Linked DNA regions of Homo sapiens: all the other regions are linked to region 3. Evidence: promoter capture Hi-C in 16 types of primary human blood cells and fetal thymus (Javierre and others, 2016). All regions are on one chromosome and are shown on one strand. Each heading gives the region's core, a stretch centred on a gene start or on the middle of the fragment in contact. The rest is flanking DNA. Distances are from core to core; before and after follow the strand shown. Region 1 holds the start of ENTPD7 (ectonucleoside triphosphate diphosphohydrolase 7). Region 2 overlaps GOT1-DT (GOT1 divergent transcript). Region 3 holds the start of R3HCC1L (R3H domain and coiled-coil containing 1 like). Region 4 overlaps CUTC (cutC copper transporter).

Evidence for each region. The method cuts DNA at HindIII sites, captures the fragments that hold promoters and counts their contacts. A CHiCAGO score of 5 or more calls a contact.
Region 1: the fragment with the promoter of ENTPD7 here is called in contact with the fragment with the promoter of R3HCC1L in region 3 in 4 of 17 cell types (total CD4 T cells, total CD8 T cells, non-activated CD4 T cells and 1 more); the score reaches 8.8 in total CD4 T cells.
Region 2: a fragment that was not itself captured here is called in contact with the fragment with the promoter of R3HCC1L in region 3 in 1 of 17 cell types (total CD8 T cells); the score reaches 6.0 in total CD8 T cells.
Region 4: a contact is called between a fragment that was not itself captured here and the fragment with the promoter of R3HCC1L in region 3, in 2 of 17 cell types (naive CD8 T cells and total CD4 T cells). The highest score is 6.5, in naive CD8 T cells.

Annotation. Positions count from the first base shown.
Region 1 is chr10:99,657,383-99,660,867 of GRCh38, forward strand. ENTPD7 (ectonucleoside triphosphate diphosphohydrolase 7) reads left to right here and starts at 2,127. Exons shown (of 13, transcript NM_020354.5): 1 at 2,127-2,206; 2 at 2,480-2,582. The coding sequence starts at 2,575. It also overlaps a transcript of SLC25A28 not described here. RefSeq lists silencers at 1,806-2,015, 2,136-2,355. The HindIII fragment of the contact is 2,116 bases long and covers 899-3,014 here.
Region 2 is chr10:99,436,458-99,439,570 of GRCh38, forward strand. The region is part of intron 3 of GOT1-DT (GOT1 divergent transcript); the gene reads left to right. Among named protein-coding and RNA genes, the nearest start is that of GOT1-DT, 7.1 kb to the left of the region's middle. The HindIII fragment of the contact is 4,686 bases long and covers 1-3,113 here.
Region 3 is chr10:98,133,045-98,136,480 of GRCh38, forward strand. R3HCC1L (R3H domain and coiled-coil containing 1 like) reads left to right here and starts at 1,613. Exons shown (of 10, transcript NM_001351015.2): 1 at 1,613-1,662. RefSeq lists enhancers at 2,040-2,829, 2,172-2,311. The HindIII fragment of the contact is 1,235 bases long and covers 1,193-2,427 here.
Region 4 is chr10:99,739,374-99,742,478 of GRCh38, forward strand. CUTC (cutC copper transporter) reads left to right here. Exons shown (of 9, transcript NM_015960.3): 3 at 337-396. Among named protein-coding and RNA genes, the nearest start is that of CUTC, 8.7 kb to the left of the region's middle. The HindIII fragment of the contact is 2,671 bases long and covers 1-2,624 here.

The DNA.
Region 1 (3,485 bases), core at 877-3,376, 1.5 Mb after region 3:
CTGGTATCTGTATAATGTTGTGGTTAATCCCAACTTTATGCAACTATTCTATTCAATGTGGTTTCTGGGGGTCCAGATAAAATATAACACTTGAAGCAGAGTGGGGATTGAGGGACAGAGAAAAAAAAACTGAGAACTGAGAATTGAAGAAGAAAGGCAAATTAGGAAGTTCAACAAGGTTAGGAGAGTAGTGGAGCCAAAAAAACAATAGTCATGAGAACTGAATATAGAAACTGGACAATGGCTAGATCTTATATGACAATTAGAACTCTGACCCACAACCTCTACAGCAACCAGCCGAGAATAATCAGGACTTGGTCAATGACTCAGTTTCCCTGTTTTTTGCCGCCTCCTTTCTTCAACTCAGAACCCACTAAAGACAGCCAAATATGCTACCTACCCCAAACCAATCACCTAAGAGACACTACTTTTGTTAGCCCACCTCCAGCTTTCCCATGCTAATACCCTCAAGTCAGAGTATACATGAAACCTTCCCTTTTTGTTCACTACTAAGCTTTCCTGGCCAGGTGCAGCTGCTCATCCCTGTAATCCCAGCACTTTGGGAGGCTGAGACAGGAAGACTGCTTGAGCCCAGGAGTTCAAGACCAGCCTGGACAACATAGTGAGACTCCATCTCTACAAAGAATTAAAAAAAAATAAGCTGGGCATGGTGGCACGTGCCTGTAGAGCCAGCTACTCAGGAGGTTGAGGTGGGAGGATCGCTTGCTCAGGAGGTCGAGGCTGCAGTGAACCACGATCGCACCACTGCACTCCAGCCTGGATGACAACAGAGTGAGACCCTGTAGGTAATTAAGTAAGTAAGTAGTTTTCCTAATGTCCTGACAGGCTTTGAGTCGGCCAAATGCAAGTGATGGTGACTGACTCCCTTGTCATAGTAAGCTTTGAATAAATAAAGCATTTGGGTGGTCTTCCTCCCCGATCCCCCCCATTCATTCATTTGCTTATTAATTATACATTAGTTGTGTTTTATCTGCCAGGCAGTGGCCAGTATTGGGAATATGTGGAAGCAAATAGTCCCTGCCTTCAAGGATATTCTGTCTAGTGGGACAGACAGACAGACATATACGTATAATAGTAATTCAACGTGCTAAGTGAAACAATAGGCATGTATAAAAAAGGTGTAGTAGGTCAAGTAGGGCTTTTAGGGGAAGGCGACCCTTAAGATGGGTGGTAAGGGATGAGTAGGAGGTGATTTGGCTAAGAGGCTGGGACGGTTATTCAAGGCAGGTGGAGGGGCAGAATGAGCAAAACAGGACGCGTTGCTGGAGCGTGGTAAGGAAGGCAAGTAGCGGCAGAGGACGGCGGTAGGGCGGATCGTGGGGCGCAATGGATGTGCCACGTTGGAAAGAGCTTGGACTTTATGCCGTCCTCCTGGAAATGAGATAACGGCTGGTGTAAGCAAGAAAGAAACACACACACACCCACGCGCGCGCGTCGTTTCCTTTGTGTTACTGTAAGGTCAAGGAGGGCGGCGACACAGAAATTCATGATGACTGGCATAAGCAGACATTCAATGAATGAATGAATGGACATAAGCACTTTGGTGTAAACGTCATTGTCTTCGATTTCTGTTTTCTCACGGGGCAAGACAGTGAGGTCGGGGCATCAGTTTGGGAGGTGATAGGGAAGGTTTAAGGTGAGAGAACTGCCATTCTGGTAGGGAGGGTCAGTGGGCACAAAACCAACAATAGGTTATGGGCAAGGGATGCGCTTCGGTCGCGAACACCCTGAACCCACCTACCGGAGCTACTCTGTCCCAGGAGCGGCCGTGGAGAAAGCAACCAGCCGAGAGTTCGCGCCCCAGGGAGGGAAGCGGGCACAGGGCCGCCCAGCGCCACTCACCTGTGAGCTCTCCGCGGGCCCTGCAGGCGGAGCCTCGGTACGACGCCTTTCCGATTGGGCGCGGCTCAAAGTCCCGGGGCGGGCATCAGAGGCCGAGCGCTCTAGGGGATTGGCCACCCTGGCGGACGGACGTGCTGCTGACCGAGCTGGTTCGCCCCCGGTTCGGCTCGTGGAGAGCCGGCCCCTCCGTGAGTCTTCTGTCAGTCATTGGCTCCCTGCGGTTTCCTTGGGGACGTGGCGCCGCCGCCGGCCGGGCCCTCCTTCCGGCTGGGCAAGGGGCCGCGGGGAGCAGCTCGGGACTGAACCGAGAGGTGCCGAAGGAACCGGCGGGCCGCTTGATCCCGTGAGTGTGGGCGCGAGAGGGCTGTGGGACCCGGAGGGACGGGGAGAGGAAGCGGGACCCACACCCCGCCACCTGGGGACGACCGGTTCCTAGAGGACAGAGCTGGCCCACGAGAACGCCCCGCTCCCAGGATGCCCGGGTAGGGTCCCCTGGGCCTGAGGAACCAGAGCAGACGGAGCGGGAGCCTGGGGAGGAGGTGGGAGCCGTGGAATTCCCGTGCAGGTTTGTCTCGTGGGCTCAGTCGGACAGAAGCCTGAAATCAAATCTTTCTAGGCTGCAGACGTAGGAGATGCCTGGGACAAGGAGGCCACCTTCTCAGGGCAAAAGAAAAAGAAGGTGACAGGCGTTGAGACCACCGAAGGGAACCCATGGCTAGGTAAGGCTGCACACTTTCCCTCCGGCTGGGAGCACGGCAGAGGATGGCAGGCAGGTTGGGGGGCCCTGGGAGGCTGTCCCAAGTGAGGTTTGCCCTGGAGCTGCACTTGGACTTTGTATTCTGGTTAGTTGGATGCAGAGACGATCAAAGTTGTATTATTTCGAGGGCTGATAAATAATAGTTTCTAGCCCATAGACCAGGAGTGGTAGAGTGAGTCGGCTTGCTCAGCTCTGTAAAGTGCAAGGTTGTAACATTGATTCAGATTCGCATCTGAGCAAGGCTAGGTGCCACTTGAGGAGGTTAAACAAAGAAGTTTTTTTGTTTTTTGTTTGCAGTGAACTTTAAAAGCAGACAGACCGAGGTCCTTTTGAATCAATATACAAAGTGAACTTCACAGATGAATACACTTATCCATACATTATAATAACCTGAAGCTTTTAAAAAATATTAATGTGGATCTACATGCACCAATAAGGGAAAGTTATAAAATAAAGTGGGGGAAAGATGCAGAACAGCAGGTATGGTGGACTACCATTTGTGTAAAACCGAGGGAATGGATACGCACACACACACACACACACACACACACACACACACAGAGATATATTACTGTAAATATATTGGTGTATATTTATGCTTGTGTATCCGTAGAATATCCCTGGAAAGATACACAGCAACGGCCAGGTGCAGTAGCTCACGCCTGTAATCCCAGCACTTTGGGAGGCCAAGGCAGGCAGATCACCTGAGGTCAGGAGTTCAGGACCAGCCTGGCCAAGTAGAAACCCGGTCTCTACTAAAAATACGAAAATTAGCCGGGTGTGGTGGCAGTCACCTGTAATCCCAGCTACTGGGGAGGCTGAGGGAGAAGAATCGCTTGAACCCAGGAGGTGGAGGTTGCAGTGA
Region 2 (3,113 bases), core at 580-3,079, 1.3 Mb after region 3:
CAGTAGCTTGACCCTGGGTAATCAGATAGGGTTATTGTATGAACAGACCTAATGCTCCTGCACGTTCTGGATAGAAGTCAATCTACTGAAATAGCAGGATGTAGTTTTAAAAAATGTGTGTAACTCATATAGTCTTAGCCCTGATAAGTGCTTCTAAATTCTTATTCACTGCCTTTATTCTGCTGTGTTAGTGTTGCTCTCTGTCATACGTGGGTCAGGTCAGAACTAGCTCAAATACAGTATGTGTATTATGACTTTAAGGAGTGGTGTCAGACAAGATGGGTAAAGAATGTCTTTCATGGGACTGCAGTTGGCTAAATGGCTGTGTATAAGTAGTGAAATTGAAGCCTTGTATGCTCGTCGTCATTCTATCACAGTATGATTTGAGTTTCCCTAACCGGTAAACAGCAAGAAAAAATGATCTGTTATTTTTTACTAAAGTTACTTGATGCTCTTTAGCAAGCTGACAGAATAATTCTAATTTTAGCAAATACAAAACCATGGTAATCCTAGCACATTTGGATTCTGTTTAACCCTGAAAACTCTTTTGGCAGCAAATCTTCAATGCCAATTTAGATAAATCCCACTAGGAATAAGCACTGAAAGACGTTGAGTCTAGTTCCCAGCTCTGCCATGTGAAGTTGGGCAAATTACAGTCTCTGAGCTTTTATTTCATCTGTTAAATGGAGATAATACCTCCTAGATTTATTAAAAGGGTCAATTTAGAAAATATGTATTAAAATGGTTTGAAAGCCATTTAAGTACCTAATGAATATTTCTATCACTGTAGCCCAAAAAGATTCCTGCCTAGAAGACTTTATGTCTCTTCTCCTCATTTGGTATCATTCTATTGCCTGAGATTGTTAATTAACTTTTATGTATACTCAATATTTTCTCCCAACTTGGTTGCTAGTTCCTTGAGAACTGAAACCATCAATTGCACTTCTTGGTATCCTCCACAATAAGGTATCTAGGTACTCAAATATTTGTTGGTTGATTAAAAACATAAACCACAAGACATAATTAACTCTTTTTAAAATTGTGGTAAAAAAACATGTATTTACCATCTTAATCATTTTTAAGTATACTGTATATTAGTGTTTACTATATGCACATTGTTGTGCAACACATCTCTAGGACTTTTTCATCCAGAATTCTTTTTTTTTGAGACAGAGTCTTGCTGTGTCGCCCAAGCTGGAGTTCAGTGGCACCATCCTGGCTCACTGCAACTGCTGCCTCCCAGGTTCAAGTGATTCTCCTGCCTCAGCCTCCCGAGTAGCTGGGATTACATGTGCCTGCCACCACGCCTGGCAAGTTTTTGTATTTTTAGTAGAAATGGTGTTTTACCATGTTGGCCAAGACTGGCCTAGAACTCCAGACCTCAAGTGATCCACCCGCCTCAGCAGCCCAAAGTGGTGGGATTACAGGCATGAGCAACTGTGCCTGGCCTAGCCATTTTCTATAAACCTGAAAATAGATGCCAGAAAAGAAGGTGCCGCTATAAAATGCTTTCTTGAGTGATTTATGTCTAACATACAATTAAACATTTATGAGAAGGAAATTATCAGGTTAAAATATAAACTCACTTGCCAATTATTTGATTTTCAGGATATCTGACTTTTGTTAATTACTGAAAATAAAGTATTATTTCTAATCACTATTGGTATCACAATAGCATTTTTATTTGGCCGGTATGTGTGAGGCCTGGAGTATGACGGGAAACTGTCCTAGAAAAGGCCCTTGCATTGGCTGTAGAGAGTTCTGGAACTCTCAAGATGGCAAGATTGTATTTAACTCTTTTAAAAACAATGCACCTTTTCAAGCACAGATTTTCATCTGATGTTGTGACCGTCAATTATGTCAGATTTGTTTGATATATTAAAAAATTGGTTTCTCCTTTGCACAAAATAAATTATAGATGGATATAAGATTTAAATATTTTAAACAATATAGGGAAAATAATATATTTGAAACATAGTATTAGGGTAGAATAGACTTTCCTAATCATGGCACAATCTCAGAAGCTATAAAGAAAATAATTGACTTTGCATGGCTATAGACACCATAAATAAATATGTGATAACATGGAAGAATATTTGCAACATGCTTATTAGTCACATCTGTTATATAGTCAGAGCTTCATTGTATTGGTGGAAAAATTAGGATATAAAGAAATTCAGAAAAGAATAAATACAAATAACCAGTAAACATGTCCAAAATCATCCTCATTATAAAATTGAAACCACGCTGATTTATCAATGTTTACCCATTAGACTGACAAACATTTTAAATGTTCAAAAAATAGTGTTGAGGGAAAAGAGCAATGACATGCACTATTGGGGAGACTGTCAATGAATAAAGCCTTTTCTTGTATTTTGGTAATAACAGTCAAAATGCACATAATACCATTTGACCAAGCAATTTCTCCTCTAGGAATCTATCCTAAAGAAATTTATACAAGTTTTCAAAGATAGGTATGTAGGCATACAGTTATGCATTGTAGCTTTGCTTTAACAGAAAAAGAGTAAACACATGTATTATTTTTGTAGCCTAAAAAAAAATCAAGTTTTCATTGAAAATAAAAATGACAGGTTTGAAGCAGGACAGTGGCCATGGAAGTCGAATCCACTAAGGCGTGTGTAACAAGTCACCTGCTGAGTCAACAAAAATAAATAAAAATTTTTTAAAAACAGGCTTGAGAGACACTTCACAGGAATAGAAAATTTAGATAGTTTCTAACAATGACAATGAAGTAGGACAGGAAAAAGTAATTCTCCAAAGCAAAGTATGTATGTGTGTAGTAACTTAAAACTTCAGATACTATGAGAAACTATTTTTAAATAAAGAACAATGTGGTGTGCTACAGTTTAGAGTTGATCTGGAAATCTGGGGAGCTATTGATGCTCCTTAGTTAATAAATTAGTGATTTTTAAAAATATGAATCCCCATTATCCGTAGCAAACTAACGCAGGAACAGAAAACCAAATACTGCCAAATACTGCATGTTCTCATAAGTGGGGCTGAATGATGAAGAACACATGGATACATGAAGGGGAATAACACACACTGGGGCCTGTCAGGGGTGGGAGTAGGAGGAAGGAGGGCATCAGAAA
Region 3 (3,436 bases), core at 363-2,862:
TTCAAGGAGTACTTGGGAGATAGTGAGAGAAGAAAGAGACCCTCTCATATTGTTTTATATTGTTTTATACTCAGTACCTGTTTTAAGAAAAAAAACAAGGAAGTGAAACCAAAGGCAGGCAGCCCAGCACCAGGCACCAGACCCAAAACCAGACCTGAAACCAGGCCTGGGCCTGCCTGGCCTAAACCTAGTAGTTAAAAATCAACTCATGACTTAGCATAGATTCCAGGCATTGTATGGAAGAACATTGTACTCTGTTCTGTTTCACTCTGACTACCACTGCATGAAGCCCCTGTCACATACACCCCAGATTGCTCAATCAATCACGACCCTTTCATGTGAAATCTTTAGTGTGGTGAGCCCTTAAAAGGGACAGAAATTGTGCACTCGGGGAGCTTGGATTTTAGGACAGTAGCTTGCCGATGCTCCCAGCTGAATAAAGCCCTTCGTTCTACAACTTGGTGTCTGAGAGGTTTTGTCTGCGGCTCGTCCTGCTACAATAGAATCTCCAAGATTTGGTGACCATTTGAATATTGGAGGAAGAGGAAGTGAGAAAGGAGGAATCAGGTTAAAGAGTGAATATTAATGAGTAGGGAGGAGGGGTAGTAGTTTACTTTTCTTTTTTTGGGGGACGGAGTCTCCCTGTGTTGCCCAGGCTGGAGTGCAGTGGTGCAATTTTGGCTTACTGCAACCTCCGCCTCCCGGGTTCAAGCGATTCTCCTTCAAGCAATTCTCCTGCCTCGGCCTCCTGGGTAGCTGGGATTACAGGTGCCCACCACCACGCACAGCTAATTTCTGTACTTTTAGTAGAGACAGGGTTTCACCATGTTGGTCAGGCTGGTCTCGAACTCCTGACCGCAGGTGATCCACCTGCCTTGGCCTCCCAAAGTGCTGGGATTACAGGCATGAGCCACTGTTCCTGGCCCCAGTAGTTCACTTTTCAAGGACACTGGAGATGCCTGTGGGCATGGATGAGGAGAGGTCTTGTCTAGGAAGTTGGGAATACAAACAATGAGCTCAGGTGAGAAGGGACTGGAGTGTCCCCTCTCCCACCCCAATTTTAAGAACTCTGGAAAACACCAATATTTTAGAGGTAAGTTAGAGGAAACAAAGTAGAATGAATTCAGAGAAGGAAAACCTGGATAGTGTCATAGAAAATAAGTGATAATGCCCAATAGCGTCAAATGACTAAAGCTTGAGTTAGATGAGTCCGGAAATACCTCCAATGAGTTTGGCAACAAGGACACTTATGACAACAAGGCATTTTCCATGGGGGCGGAAGCTGCGATGAGGAGTGAACACAGATGAGCAAGTAGAGACAGTGTAGATTATCTTTTTCAAAAAACTTGGCTGTGAACGGAGGAAGTGAGATGGTATAATTGAGTGGAATGTAAGGAGATTTGCGCACGTATATAGCCGAGAGGAATGAGGAAGGGTTGAAGGGACAGGAGCAGAAATGCTCTCCGGCACTCGCCATTTTGCCAGCTTCTCCCCTACGTGACCTGAACTCAGTGGGCGCGGCCGGGCCTCGCGGAAACTACAACCCCCAGAAGGCCCCACGGCGTTGGGGGCGGAGCCGAGGCCTGACGCGCGCCCCAGCGGCGCGAGCGGAAGAGATAGAGCTTCGCGGAGACGGCGGAAGCGGAGAGCAACAGCGCGCCGGTAACAACCAGCCCCGTATCCCCTCCCTCTGTACCTCAAGCTAGGATTTTTAATCCCCACTTCTCCCTTCACAGCCCGGGACAAGACTTCCATTCCGTCGTTTGTTGCTGGTATTTTTTTTCCTCATGTGACGCGAGGGGCCGCCCCCTGCCTGGGGCGGAGGTTACTGGGAAGCTCCCGCCTTCTGACCCCTGCGGGCCCGCGGTTGAGAGGGACCCTCCCGGGGCTCTTTTGCACTCACTGGGGCTCGTGCTCGCTTTGGGCGCTCGCCCCAAATGATCCTGGCGGAAAGGACGTGCTTTTTCTGGGTTTCAACAGGTATTGAGCGGGGTCCCTGGTTACCCCCTCGGGGCTGCGGGGCCGTGGGCCCCCAGGGCTGCCGGCGGTTTCCGGGCTTCGCTTCGAGCCTCGCCTTTGAGCCTCCTCCGCTGCCCGGGAGCCCCGGGCTACGGGCTGGGAGTGAGCAATCTATAAAGGAGCATGTACTTCCTGCTTTTTCTTGGCAGGCCTGCGAAAAACCCCAAGTCCGATCTTTAAAGTTTGTGAGTGCAGCCCCCTCTCAGTTGTGTACGGGAAGGAGCACAGGATTTGGAGTCTGATATCCTGGGGGAAGTCTCAGTCCGCCACTTGGCTGGACCTGTGATCTTTTGTACAGTAGTCTGTTTAGCGCAGCCTCGGTTTCGTTGTCTGAAAAGTGGGGTTAATGTTCTTTGCCCTGCGGCCTTCCAGGGTTGTGGGCTTCAGCAGAAGTGATATTCCTGCGAAAGCTTTGAACTCTAAAGTATGTTTCGGGTATAACCTTGCCATCCCCCAGTCTCCAGTCTAGGTCAGTTGAGTTTTAAAACCAGGTTCATGTCTATACGAAGATCAAATTAGTTAATAAATAGGGGGAAAGTGTCTTTGGAAACGAATCTGAACCATACAGATGTTTTTATGCCAGGTTCCTAGTGAAGAGGTGACCTTAGGGCGTTACCACCTGTGGAGTCAATTTAAAACTTCATCTGGATTTTAAGGCCCACCAGAATTTAGACTCTTCTTCCTCAGCACACACAACTATCTCTTGCTGTTATAACCTTCCTTCAGTATCACACAGGTACAAGCATAAAGCAGTAAACGTTCCTCAGATATGGTTGTACTACAACTAATACCTGTCCCCAGCAGGTCTTGTGTCTTGTGTCACAGTTGAAATTCAGAATATAAATAGCCAAATATCCCATCTGTTTAATTTTTTTTGACATTAAGCTTTGAGACTAAGCAAGTTGCTTATTGTCTTATTTTTCCCCTTACAGAGAATGCTAATTCTGCAATCAGTTTTTTTTTTTTTTTTGGGTAGAATCAGGATTTCACTATGTCGCCCAGATTGGTCTAACTCCTGGGCTCAAATGATCCTCCCGCCTCGACCTCCCAAAGTGTTGGTATTACAGGCGTTTGACACTGTGCCCACTGTGCCCGACCTCTGCGATTAATTTTTAAAGGGGTAAGAAAGTGTAGTTAGGTATTTTTAGTCTGTGTTTATTCTGAATTTATTGATTGAAGAATACTTGAAAATGGTCCAAAAAACAAGAGAGGATGACAGTAAGTTGCATTAGCTTAGTGTACAAATTCGAGCAAATTTGAGTTCAAGTCCTGGTGCTGTGTCTTACTACAGGTTGGAGTATCCTTATCTGAAATGCTTGGTACCAGAGTGTTTCAAATTTCAGATTTTGGTATATTTGCATATACATAGTTAGATATCTTTGGGATGGGACCCCAATCTAAACATGAAATTGATTTA
Region 4 (3,105 bases), core at 39-2,538, 1.6 Mb after region 3:
TATCAACAAAGACTCAGTATTCCACTATAGTCAGTTTTAAGAAACATCTTTATTCTATGTTACTTTCCTGTACATAGAGAGGCAACCCTATAATACAAAAATTTAAGAGAACTAGCTTAACTTTAATTAATTTTTAAATTTGAGTATGAGTAACACAATGTGGGCTGCAGAGTATAGCTGAGTTAAAAACAGAGTTTTACTCTAGCTTTATAATTTGATTTCTCTGAGATGATTTCTAAGACTGTTCTATATTTGGAAAAAATATATATAAACAGGTTGCTGTTTAATAACAGCTTATTTTTTAAAAATGTGTTGAGCAATGCTTTTATATTACAGGTGCTGATCGGATTGAATTATGTTCTGGTTTATCAGAGGGGGGAACTACACCCAGCATGGGTAAGTGTCCATTTTTCCCAGGTTTTCTGATTGGAGTTCATAGAGCCTGGAAGCAACTGATAATCAGTTTCGTTGGGGTCCTTTACTAATGTCATGTTAACTATGTTATGGATGTTGTATCAGAAATGTTTATGATTGTAAAAAAATCAAAGATTTGATCAAACATATTTCTTTCTCACATCAAAAAGTTGAAAGGTAGGTAGGTAATTGTTAATACCGGTTCAGCTGCTCTGTAGTAACATCAAGGATTAGGCTTTTATAAAATCTTTCCATGCTGGCATCCTTAGTATATTGAAATCCCCTCCTGGTCTTTGTGCTATTGTTGTCATATATTTTACTCATACATATATCAAAAACTCCATGCTGTATTGTTAGTTTTGTTTGAAGAGTCAATTATCTTTTGTTAAATAAGAGATTTAAATAATAAGAAAAAAATCATATATTTACCCACATGCAACTACCATTTCTGGTGTTCTTTATTCCTTTGTGTAGATCCCGTATTTCTGTCTGGTTTCATTTTCATTCTGCCTGAAGTACTTTCTTTAACTTTTTTTGTTAAAAAGTATGCTAGTGATTCATTCCTTCAGCTTTTATATGTCTAAAATAGCTTTTTCCTTCATTTTTGAAAGGTATTTTTGCTGGGTATAGAATTCTAGGTTGACAGGTTTTTTTTTTCTTTGAAGATGTTTTTCCATTGTCGTCTTGCTTGTATTGTTTCTGACAAAAAGCTATCATCCATATCTTTGTTTTTCTCTATGTAATATGTCTCTTTTTTCTACCTACTTTTAAGATTTTTTTATTATTGGTTTTGAACAATTTTCTTATGGTGTACCTGAGTATAGTTTTTTCATGTTTCTTGGACCTGTGCATTTATACTTCTCATCACATTTGGAAAATTTTCAGCTTGCAGCTTGTTCTCCACTCCCTCCTTTAGAGACTTAAGCTATTCTTACATTAGACTACTTGAAATTGTCCCAAAAGTCACTGATGAACTTCTCTATTTAAAAGAAAATCTCCTTTCTGTGTTTTCATTTTGCATAGTTGCTATTGTTTTGTCCTTGAGCTTACTGACCTTTTCTTCTGCACTATCTAATCTGCTATTAGTCTCTCCTGGTATGTTTTCATCTCATACATTGTAGTCTTCATCTGTAGAAATTTGAGTCTTTTTATGTCTCTGATGTCTCTTAACTTTTTTGAACATGTGGAATAAAGTTATGATAGCTGTTATAATGACCTTGTCTGCGAATTCTAACATCTATATCAGTTCTGGGTTTGTTTCATTTGATTTATCATCTAATAATATATCTTATTTTCCTGCCTTGTAATTTTTTATTGGATGCAAGACATTGTGAATTTTACTTTATTGGTTACTAGACATTTTTGAATTCCTACAAATGTTCCAAAACAGTTTGGTCCTTTTGGGTCTTGCTTTTAAGATTTGCTGGGCAAGTCTGGAGCAGTGGTTAATACAGAGCTAATTATTCCTTACTACTGAGTCAGGATTCTTCTGTGAACTCTACCCTGTGACCATGAATTTTGAAATTTTCCTGTCTGGCTGGTGGAATAGGCATTATTCACAGCTTGGTATGAATGACAGGCACATTATTTCTAATCCTTTTTATTGGTTCTGTCCCAGGCCTTGCGTAGTTTCTTTGCATGCATGCACCGGTCAGTACTCAGCTGAATATTAAAGGAGGTTCTCTGCAGACCTCCAGAGTTATCTGTCTTCCTTTCTTCTTTCATTCCTTCCTTTCCTTTCTTTTCTTTCCTTCTCCTTTTCTCTCTCTTTGCTTTCCTTCCTTCCTTTTTTTCTTTTGACAGGGTCTCACCTGTTGTCCAGGCTTGACTGAAGTGGTGTGACCATAGCTCCCTACAGCCTCAAACTCCTGGGCTCAAGCAATTGTCCTGCCTCAGCCTCTCAAGTAGCTAGGATTACAGGCATATGCCACCATGTCCAGCTACATTTGTTTGTTTGTTTGTTTGGTAGAGATGGAGTCTCACCATTTTACCCAGACTGGTCTTGAACTCCTTGCCTCAGGCAATCCACCCATCTCAGCCTCCCAAAGCACTGGGATTACAGGCATGAGCCACCGTACCAAGCCTATCTTTTTTAAAAAAAATCCTTTTTTTAAACCATTGAGATAGTCTTTGCTACTCCAGTGTTATCTTTCTGTCCTCCCTGTACTGTCTCCTATAAACTCTAGCTACTTCAGTCTTCCTGAACTCTAAGCTTTGTCTCCTTAACTCAGGGAATTGTTTTGGCTCCATGTGGGTCCCCCATCCCTGTGCTTTGGCCTAGAAACTCTCAAGGCAGTAAATTGGGTCAATCAGAATTGACTTACTAACTTCATTGTTTACCATTTTCAAGGATCATTGCCCTTCACTGCTTAATGTCCAGTGTCTTGCAAACCACTGTTTCATATATTTTGTCTGTTTTTTTATTATTATTATTATTATAGGTGGGAGGGTAAATCCAGTCACTGTTACCCTGTCTTGGCCAAAAGCAGAAGTCTGTGTATGAATTGTGGTCTCCTAAGTTATGCTACTCTGAGGTTGATAATAGCATTATTTAATGTAAAAAGTTTGTATACACAACAGCCCTTTGGAATCTTCACATGAAAAGAGGGCATTCCTGGCCATTCTAAAATCCCTAGAGCATGTCTGTAAATTTGAGTACAGTCTGTTTTTGTAACACCAATTATGATTCAT